3 separate regions of the Homo sapiens genome follow, and regions 1 and 2 are each linked to region 3. Evidence: promoter capture Hi-C in 16 types of primary human blood cells and fetal thymus (Javierre and others, 2016). All regions are on one chromosome and are shown on one strand. The core of a region is centred on a gene start or on the middle of the fragment in contact, and the rest is flanking DNA. Distances in the headings are between cores, read along the strand shown.

Region 1 (3,080 bases), core at 456-2,955, 940 kb after region 3:
AAGCCATGTTTCATGAACTGAATTAAACTCTTCCAATTTGAGTCCAGATTGGCTAAAGAGACAATGAGGTAACTGGCTAGACACTATTTCCTGCAAATGTGATCCCCAAGGAATTATGAATCAAAATTCCTGAAACTATCTTTATGTAGCAAATTGAGCCCGTAATAAAAATTCCAGAACTAATGTCCACTTTGACAAAATGAAAGAAAGGTATATTTAAATCATCAAAGTTTATAACTATGTTTTTTTACTCTGATTTCAACATAAACAGTGTATAAGCAGAAGACTAGGAAGGAGAAGGTCTATAAATAACTCTGTCCAATCTTTTCATTATTTCAACCATTCATATTTCATGATGCAAATCAGTAATGAAAAGGTTTTAAACCATCAGTGAAGAACTAAAAAAAGTTTAAGAGCTGCGTACAGTGACAAAACTGGAATTTTTAGTGCTTTTCACTTAATTTGGACATTAAAGATGAATCCTGAGGATATTATGGCTGCTTAGACACACCAGAGACTTATATCTTTGTAACCTTATATGTTTTTTCTTCTATTGTGCTCGTTGCACAGGCACATTACTTTTCCAAGGCTGATTTGACTCATCAAACACCAAACCCTTACTACATATACCTCATAAGATAATTTACAACCAAATACTCTTGGCACTTTGTTTTCAGCTGATAATTTGGAACAGTAGTATGCTGGAGCTGGCTTATCCCAGCTGAGAGAGCCTATTGTTAAGCATGCAGAAATTTTGTAGTCTTGTTGCTAAGCATTTGGTAGCTTGAAATAGGTAATGATGGGAATATTTATGTCACAAAAATTGGCAAATACTACATACCAGGTTTTTGGTTTTGTTTTACATTTTAAGAGTTGGTTTACCAGCATATTATTGGACCTGTTTTATTCTTTAGTAGACATAGAAAGGCAGAAAAATTTATGGTGAATAGGAAGAAAATTTAAGAGAAATTAGCAATGTTTATGTATGATATGGATATTTTTTTGAAGTCAGAGTACCCATGGAAGCCACCAGCACTATCTGCTAGCCTGAGTCTAATATTCACTAGACTCTATCCAAAACACCTGTAGAGATTAGAGAAATATATTACTTCCTGTCAACTATGCTTTAATATCCACCCTGCCTTGTCAACCTAGGAAGTGGAGCTCATTGTGGTTATTTCAATGATCACCTGATGTCTCTAACCCATGAATTAAGGTTCTCTTGTTATTCTTTGTCTTCTCCTAAGATGAAGACTTAAATTGCAAAATAATAGTAGTGGATAATAATGGTCACAAATTGTTAGCCTACTGAATGCTATAAACTTCCATAAGGTATTTTCTTCCTCATAGAAACTCTACAAACTAGGCAACATTGTTCCAAACAAAAAAATTAACTTGCTCAAATTAAGTGTAAGTCATAATTTTAGCCCAGATATGTCTATTTCCAGAGAACATGTTTGCTCCATTATACTAGTATTTCTATATTTTCAAACTTGATTAACTCATGCATGCTTTTTAAAGAAAAATGAATCCCCCAGACATCCAATATTGATTTATATTATTTTTGTAAGAGGGATAAAAAATATATTAAATAATATATCTTTAAATGTAGTAGCAGAATTATAACAAATCTGCCTCTCTTACCTCAAATTGTTTCTAAGAAAAAATTAGTAAAGAAGCATTGATGTAATGAGTTGATGATGATGAAAATAATACCTTTATGGTATGCCAGAAATTGGAGAGGCTGTGACAAAACATATTAAAAAGAAAGCATGCCCATTTTTATCTGGTCTGGCCAAGCATACAGGACAGATGCATGATGAGATATGATGTATGTATTTACCCCTGTGTGAAACAACAATAAAAGATCCCTTAGACCTACTGGGGGACAATGGAAATATTTGCTGCTTATCTTGGGACTTCTGATATTCAACCTATAAACTATCTAATCATTCTTCTTAAATTGTGAATATGGGAACTAAGGGGCTAAGTCACCCTTCTATTTGTGGATTGGGAACAAATTCTCTTGGTGACCCTCAAAATATTTCACTTTCTTCTGTTTGATAAGGGACATAAGTTATGCAACTGTTTGACTATTTCTGTGTGTATTATTTCACATTTAACCACTCTATAAAAAACAAGCTGCATGAATAAATAGTGAGAATCACATTTTACATTAATTTATTTATTGGTCTTTGTGTCCATCTGACTCTCAGAAGGAAACAGACAGAAAAAAATGAGAAGAGTTGTGGAAGGAGCTATTTAAAAGGGTGTAGACAAAGTCAAGGAAAACCAGCATGACATATATCTGCCTGTCATTTCATAAGCAAATTACATCCTGTAATTGATATACATTTGATATACATTTCCTTTTCTGATTCCACTTGATGACTGCTGCCTAAAGATACTCAATGAAGTCTTCCTAGGCCATTCAACGTAAGAGCTAGAGTTTATTTTTAAGGAAAATAATGTCTTACCTTATTAAAAAGAGAACACTACTTACACTAGTTTTTATTAGCAGAATTGACTTATTTTTTAAAGATTACCTATAAGCTAGAAACTAATAGTGTACTTAATATTTTACACAATATAAAGGAAGCCCCATGTCATTCCAGTGTAATGATGTGGATAGTCAAAGTGAGACAAGTCACTGATTAAAGAGATTTAAACAATTTTTAGGTTTGGATCATTTTGTTTTGATCTCCTAAATAATGACCTTTCATTCGAGAAAAATACTAGTTGTGCAATTAATGGCTTAAAATTTCTGTCTTTATATTTGTAAATATTTTTTCCTTTTTTTCTTTTCATGCATTTATTCTAATTTGCATGACATATATTAATTGAATTAGTACATAGGATTAAGAATGAATAAGAAGCTCAAGGAGTAATATTATAGTAAAAGAAAAAAGCAGTTAACTTTTTTATAGTAACAAGGCTCAGAAAACAATTTTGACAATATTAATTTTTAAATTTTAATCATATTCAATCATTTATAATATGACCAGGCCTTCTAATCAAAGGGAAGTAAAGTTTTCAAATGAAATTTTGAAATTAAAGAAATGCAAACAACAATTTCACAT
Region 2 (3,242 bases), core at 631-3,130, 960 kb after region 3:
TCTTTGTCAGTTGGGTTATATTTTGACTTGATCCTAGTTATTGGTCTGATATCCAGGAGAGGAGTTGGAGGTTCATCCTGAATGACCTGAAAGTAAAATTGCAAGGGATTGTCTTCAAGCCAGTAGGTAGCACTAGTTCTTAACAGGGAGGAATAGGCCACTTTTGTAGGCCCACAAAGTTCAGAGAAGTCTGAGTTTCAAGTTTATCAAGTGTCTCATTTCAGACGTCTTGATTCCAGGATTCACTTCTTTATAATGAAGATCCTGACCATGGTGGAGCTGACATCCATGAGAATTAAATTTTCATTGGAGCTCCACTATACTTATATGTCCTGGGCTTGAGCTTAGCTTTTTCTTGCCTCTGGCTGTTGCAGTTTTATTAGTTTCTGTAGAGGTGTCATGATTCCTTGATTCTTTATAATACTTGTGTCCTTGCATTTGCTGTGCATTTGAAGAAATGGTCCATTCGTTTGGCCTTTACAGGTGTTCATTGTAGGAACAGACCTTCACTAATAGTCTAGCCTGTGATTCTGAAAGGGCTGACAACTCCAGGCAGAACTTGCTGTGGTTTCTCTAGTTGGCTGGGCCACTGCCTTTGCTCTGATGGCTGGGCTCTGCTGTCCAGAGAGACCACTGGTTAGGCAGAGACCAATGGTTGGGCTCTGCTATTAGAGGAAGCTACTGGTTGGGCTCCGCTATTAGGAAGAGTTGCCGGCTTGGTACTGTGATGCTCTCTGGTCAGGGTAGTCAGAAGATGTATTCCTTGGCTGGGCAATTTTACTATTTGGAATCTGCACTTGGGCAGGGCTTCAGGCTGGGCTTTGAAAGTTGCTGCTTGTGATGGGCAAGACAAGAGCCTATGCTCCTTAAAAATGTGTGATTAAGGGTTGCCTCCATTAGGTCAGAGCTGTAGGGTGGACTTTTGCCTGAGTCAAGATGCTACTTGACTTCCTGCGTCAAGCAGGTTTAGTTCCTACACTCCTGCAAAATGCACACGGGAGGTTGTTGGGCAGGCTTTTTGGCTGAGCTAAGTTACTTACTCTTTGGACTCCTAGGTTTTACAGGTCTAGCCCTTGTGCCTCTTAGAAATGTATGCATGTGGCTGTCTCCCTGCCTCAGCAGGATTATAAGGCAAGCTTTTTGGATGAGTGGAGCCACTGCTTGACCCAAGATATCTAGCCTGTGTGATTCTCAAAATGCGCAGAGGGGGGCATCTCCCTACCTGGGCAGGGTTGTTAGAGTAGGCTGTGTGCCTGGCCATGGAGGCTAGCCATCTAGGGACTCAAGCAAGGCTGAACTTCCCACTGTGCTTCTGAAAAAGATCAGTTCAGCTTTCTGGGTGGGCTATGAAGTTGGCTGGTAACTCTGATTGGGCACCGCAGCTGGTGTGAACACAGAGGTGCCACACAGATCCATATGCTAGTCACTGTGGCCTCTGCCTTCTTTCTTTGTTTCTACTTGACCCCAGGTGGTCTAGCCATGCCTTTACCCTTTTCTTTCCCTATGAGGTGAGACAGGCGGGATTCCTGGAAAGAAAGCATCTCAAAATGCTAGGGAAGCTGAATGACTGCCTCCAGTTCTCTTTCCCCACTGCAGAAACTATGGGTCCAGGGTAATGCTCTTCAACCAGTGTTGTGCCAACTTCGTGGTGGCGGGGGGGGAGACCATTCTTCTGACCCTTCTCACTCAATTTTCACTTAGGTATGTGTACCACATTGTCTCAGGCTCGTTTCCAATATTGGGCTTTTGAAGAAGATGTTCTGGTCTATGGATAATTGCTAGATAAGCTTACAAGGGGTGGGGGGAGTGTGTGTAGCCTGAGACTTTTTACTCCGCCATATTGCAGCCATCCTGACAATGATAAAAACTCTTAACAGACTAGGTATAGAAGGAAGTTGCCTCAACATAATAAAGGCTATATGTGACAAACCAACAGCTAACATCATACTAAATGGTTAAAAATTGAAAGCTTTTCCTCTACCACCAGAAACAAAACAAAAATGCTTCTTAACACCACTTCTATTCAGCATAGTACTGGAGATCCTAGCTAGAACCATTAGGCAAGAAAAAGAACTAAAATACATTCAAATTAGAAAGGAAGACAACAAAATTGTTTGCAGATGACATAATTCTTCTTGTTTTAACTTGATATAAAAATAATCATGTGATATTTTTCCAATTATTTATTAATTGTATTGAGTGTCATATATTTGAGAAAACATATAAAAATCCATTAATATTTAAAATAAAATGTGTTGGATACTCTGGGGAAACAAGTCACGTTAAATCTTAAACTTTATTCAAGGGAGATTTACAGCTAACATATGCCATCTAGTGGCACTAAAAGAAACTTCACTTACAAATTCATAACATTTCCATTTCTTAGCGTACTATACTTCTGCTTATTCTTATGAATCTTTATATATGCCACCCTAAGGGAGAAATTCTATTGAATTGAAGTCCCATAGTTTTTCATAGATTTCTTACAATGCATATTTTTATGCATACAATGTCATGAGAAAAGTAATAATTTGTCATCAAATCATAATATAATCTATTTGTCTGAATTCCACGCTTCCAACCACCAACATAACTCTTTACAAGATGATCAGACCTGATCCCCTTTTTTCTATTACATGTTAATGTAAATATACACTTAGACTGATGCTCTACATAAATTATCTTGAAAATGTTATATTAAGAAATATCTAAAACTAGTTCAGTTTTTATACGATTCATGTTTCTGTTTTTATAAAGCAGAATGTTAAAAAGCTTTCAAGTTTCATTACATGGAACTTCTTGCCACATCTTTTTTTTTTCAACCTATAAATTGTTCATTGTCAAACATGTATCACACTTTTGAATTAAGGCATTGATCATCCCCATTCTTTGTACCTCACATTGGTGACTGAAAAATGTTGTGCTCTGCTGGCAGAATAGAAGCCTCCAGAAACCTGGTCCTGTGCTCTGACACAAGAACCTAGTGCTAGTGAACATGATGATTCTAGTCCTTCTCTTGCTATAATCAGGTGGCGTCCATCAGTGACTAACTCTACAACTAGAAAATTACCTCTGCATAGAAATAACTAAGGTAGAAGAAGGAGTTACAACACCAAATAAAGCAAGAGGAGAAAGGTATTTCTCAATAAATTGAACTATTCCCACAGTCATTTCTAAAGACTGGTGCTAAAGAAATTGTGTTGGGAGGCCGAGGCAGGCGGATCACGAGGTCAGGAGATTGA
Region 3 (2,995 bases), core at 473-2,972:
TACATCCCACTTCATCCCTCATTTGCGCAGCTCCTGCTGCCACAGTATCCATGCCTAGCATAAAACAAACTAAGTTAAGTCACGGTGGGGTGCCTTTTGTGAGGCCACTCAGAGTAGAAAGAAACAAAGAGCAAGACAGAGATGCGAAGAACATAAAGAAAACAAATAAGGCATTAAAAAAAGGAGAAATAAGTGGGAAGGAAAAATAAATTCACCAGGCTAAGCATCATAAAATCACACACGCTCTTAAAATTTGGCCAGTAATTAATAGTAGTAGTATTATTATTAGTCTTTGTTTTGGGAGATTGCCTTCAGAGAGCTGGAAAATTCATTTCGAATTAATAAGGGTCTTTTTCTTTCAGAAGCATCTCCTAAAAATAAGAACGGGCTAATTAAAAATCTGACAGCCACCCCGATACTTACAGAATTTTTGCATATGCAGGATAGTCATCACAAATTGTATTCTCTGCACGTCATGTCAAAAGTATTCTCATACACTACTAGAGGGAGCTTAAGAATTTAAGGTGTGCAAGAATATATTTCTATCTTTGGCCCACCAGGGCCCTCTTGTAGGAGGCCTGTGTTGGGCGGGAGAGGCCTAGTCGCAGACCCTGTCTTTTCAAGGAGAAAGCCCGCCACTGCTTCCTCTGAGTCTGGAGATAAAACCAGTCCGGCATTGCTACTCCCTAGCTCTCTCCCCCTCCCTTAATTCCTCCTCTACATTTCAGGCGCATTTCTCAGAGTGCCACCTGTTCCTGCTGCTTACCCTTTTCATGCCTTCGCATTGACAAAAGTGAGCTCACCCTGCGGTAACCTTGTCAGGCAGGGCAGGCCAGTGGCCAGAGCAGGGCGTTAGGACCCTTTTGGAGGTAGTCCCAACTGGGATGCTGCAAAGCGCTTCTCTTACTACTGTCCTCCCTAGATGCAGAATTCGTCCCTCCACCCCTCTGTCCAATGGAACCACAGGGCTGGGAAGATTTTACAGCGTCAGTACTTCTCTGTCCGTCCACAGCCCGGTCCCTGAGGCTCTGTCCTCGCCAGGTGAGCCGAGCAGTACCTGGGCGTGGGACCGCTGGCACAAAGGGCACCCAGCCCCGGCAGAGGCTCTAACCTATGGCACACGCGGGCATATAGTGCCACCTGGTAGAGAGTCAACAGTGGTGCTTTAAAATGCAATACAAACCCCTCCTACATTTGTTGTCAAATCACTTCACGATTCCCAGGCAGGCACTGGATTCTGCGCCTGGGAGTAGGGCTGGGGGGGAACGCTGCCTGCATGTGCAAAAATAACCCCCGAAGACGCGAGCCAAGTCCTGGGTTGGAGCCTCTGCAGCCTGTGGATGCCCGCTGGGCGGCTGGCCGTCCCCCGGGAGCCCCGCGGGGCTGGTCCGCTCCGCCTGCGCACGCCGGGCGGCGGGAGCGAGCCGGCGCCGACTTTGGGAGTTCCTGGCTGCCTTGTATGGAGGGCTGCTCCCGGCCCGTCTCCGCCCGACTGCTCTGACGCCCAGCCCTCCCGCTGCCCACCCCCAGCCGCCTCCCTCTGACTTGCCTAAGAAGCCAGACGGAGCCTCTCGCTTCCACAAGTCTCTCTGCCTGCCATTCCCCGATTCCTGCAGCCACCCCCACCCTCCAGCGCCGTCACCCCTCCTCCGCCCCCGCCCCCGCCTCCGCCTTCGCCTCGGCAATCGGGGGAATAAATCAGGGAGGAAACCGAGAGGGAGAGCGAGAGCGCGCGAGCGCCGGCGGGCTCGCCGAGGTCTGTTTCCAAAGTCGCCCTTGATGGCGGCGGAGGCAAGGCGGCCGCGGCGCGGAGCAGCCGACGCACGCTAGTGGGTCCGCCCGCCACCGCCCCTTCCTCGGCGTCCGCTCCCGCCCTTGCCGTCCCCCGCGCGGCTCCGCGCCTCGGGCCCCGGGCGCAGCCAGCCCTCCAGACGCCCGCGGTCCCGGCGGCGTGTGCTGCTCTTCCTCCGCCCGCGGTTTCCAGCGCCGCTCCTTCCCCCGCTTGGGCAGGGAGGGGGCATTGATCTTCGATCGCGAAGATGGCTGCTGGCTGCCTGCTGGCCTTGACTCTGACACTTTTCCAATCTTTGCTCATCGGCCCCTCGTCGGAGGAGCCGTTCCCTTCGGCCGTCACGTAAGTCGGCGGGCCGGGCAGGGAGCGCCGGCCGAGGGGCGCCGCGGGAGTTGGGGGTGGGGGTCGGTTCCCGAGTCGCGGGGCTTTTCCGCCCGTGGGGGTGGGGAGCGAGCGGCCGGGGAGCCAGGCTCGGATGCGGAGACGCCGGGCAGGCGGTGCGCGCCGCTCGCCGCTGGAATGCGTCCCGAACCGGCGTCTCGGGCGCCTCCACGGGGCCGGGCACTGGGGGCCGACTGTCCCGGGAAGCGCCCGCCGACGACTCGCGGCGTCTCAGCCCGTCTCTAACGGGATTCTCTAGACTTCAGAGTGCAGCCGTACTGGGGAAAAAAGTTTCCAGCCAGCTCACCCGCTCTGATTCAACCCAGTTCAATAAAAAGTTATGTTTTGGTTGGGTAATTTACAAACAGGTAATTTCAGGCTTGCCGAGGTAGCGTGGACTTCCCCCGCACTTGGCCTCGGAGATGCTCTTTAATTGCTGTAGTGCCCAAACTCGTTTTATCCCACGTTACTGGATGCACTTGACAGCCTTCCGATTAGACGCGTGCTGGCTCCCCGCGGCCGAGCGTGCTGTCCACGCAGGGGGCTCGCAGGTACTGGGACCACGCGATCCAACCTCCCCAACCCATTATTTGAAACATCTAAGTGTCGGCAGACACGCGGTCCCTGTTCTTCAAATGAATAGAGCCTATTCTTTGAAGGAGGGACTATTTCCAGTCTCCTACAAATTTTCTTTTATTTTTACCATTTCTAAAATAACTTTTAAAAACCTCGCTGCTGTTCTGGAAATAGAGGGCTTATAGGTAGCTATAGTCACACCACAGGAAGGGAATGAAAAATAATAATTCTCTCCTTTCTTAGCAA

Evidence for each region. Contacts are between HindIII fragments. The CHiCAGO score rates a contact against its expected background, and 5 or more counts as called.
Region 1: a fragment that was not itself captured here is called in contact with the fragment with the promoter of CACNA2D1 in region 3 in 1 of 17 cell types (fetal thymus); the score reaches 5.8 in fetal thymus.
Region 2: a fragment that was not itself captured here is called in contact with the fragment with the promoter of CACNA2D1 in region 3 in 1 of 17 cell types (fetal thymus); the score reaches 5.0 in fetal thymus.

What each region holds. Positions count from the first base shown.
Region 1 is chr7:81,504,423-81,507,502 of GRCh38, reverse strand. No RefSeq gene overlaps it. Among named protein-coding and RNA genes, the nearest start is that of HGF, 260 kb to the left of the region's middle. The HindIII fragment of the contact is 4,512 bases long and covers 1-3,080 here.
Region 2 is chr7:81,481,883-81,485,124 of GRCh38, reverse strand. No RefSeq gene overlaps it. Among named protein-coding and RNA genes, the nearest start is that of HGF, 290 kb to the left of the region's middle. The HindIII fragment of the contact is 182 bases long and covers 1,790-1,971 here.
Region 3 is chr7:82,442,504-82,445,498 of GRCh38, reverse strand. It overlaps CACNA2D1 (calcium voltage-gated channel auxiliary subunit alpha2delta 1), which reads left to right and starts at 1,722. Exons shown (of 39, transcript NM_000722.4): 1 at 1,722-2,134. The coding sequence starts at 2,040. RefSeq lists an enhancer at 2,717-2,995. The HindIII fragment of the contact is 3,454 bases long and covers 1-2,995 here.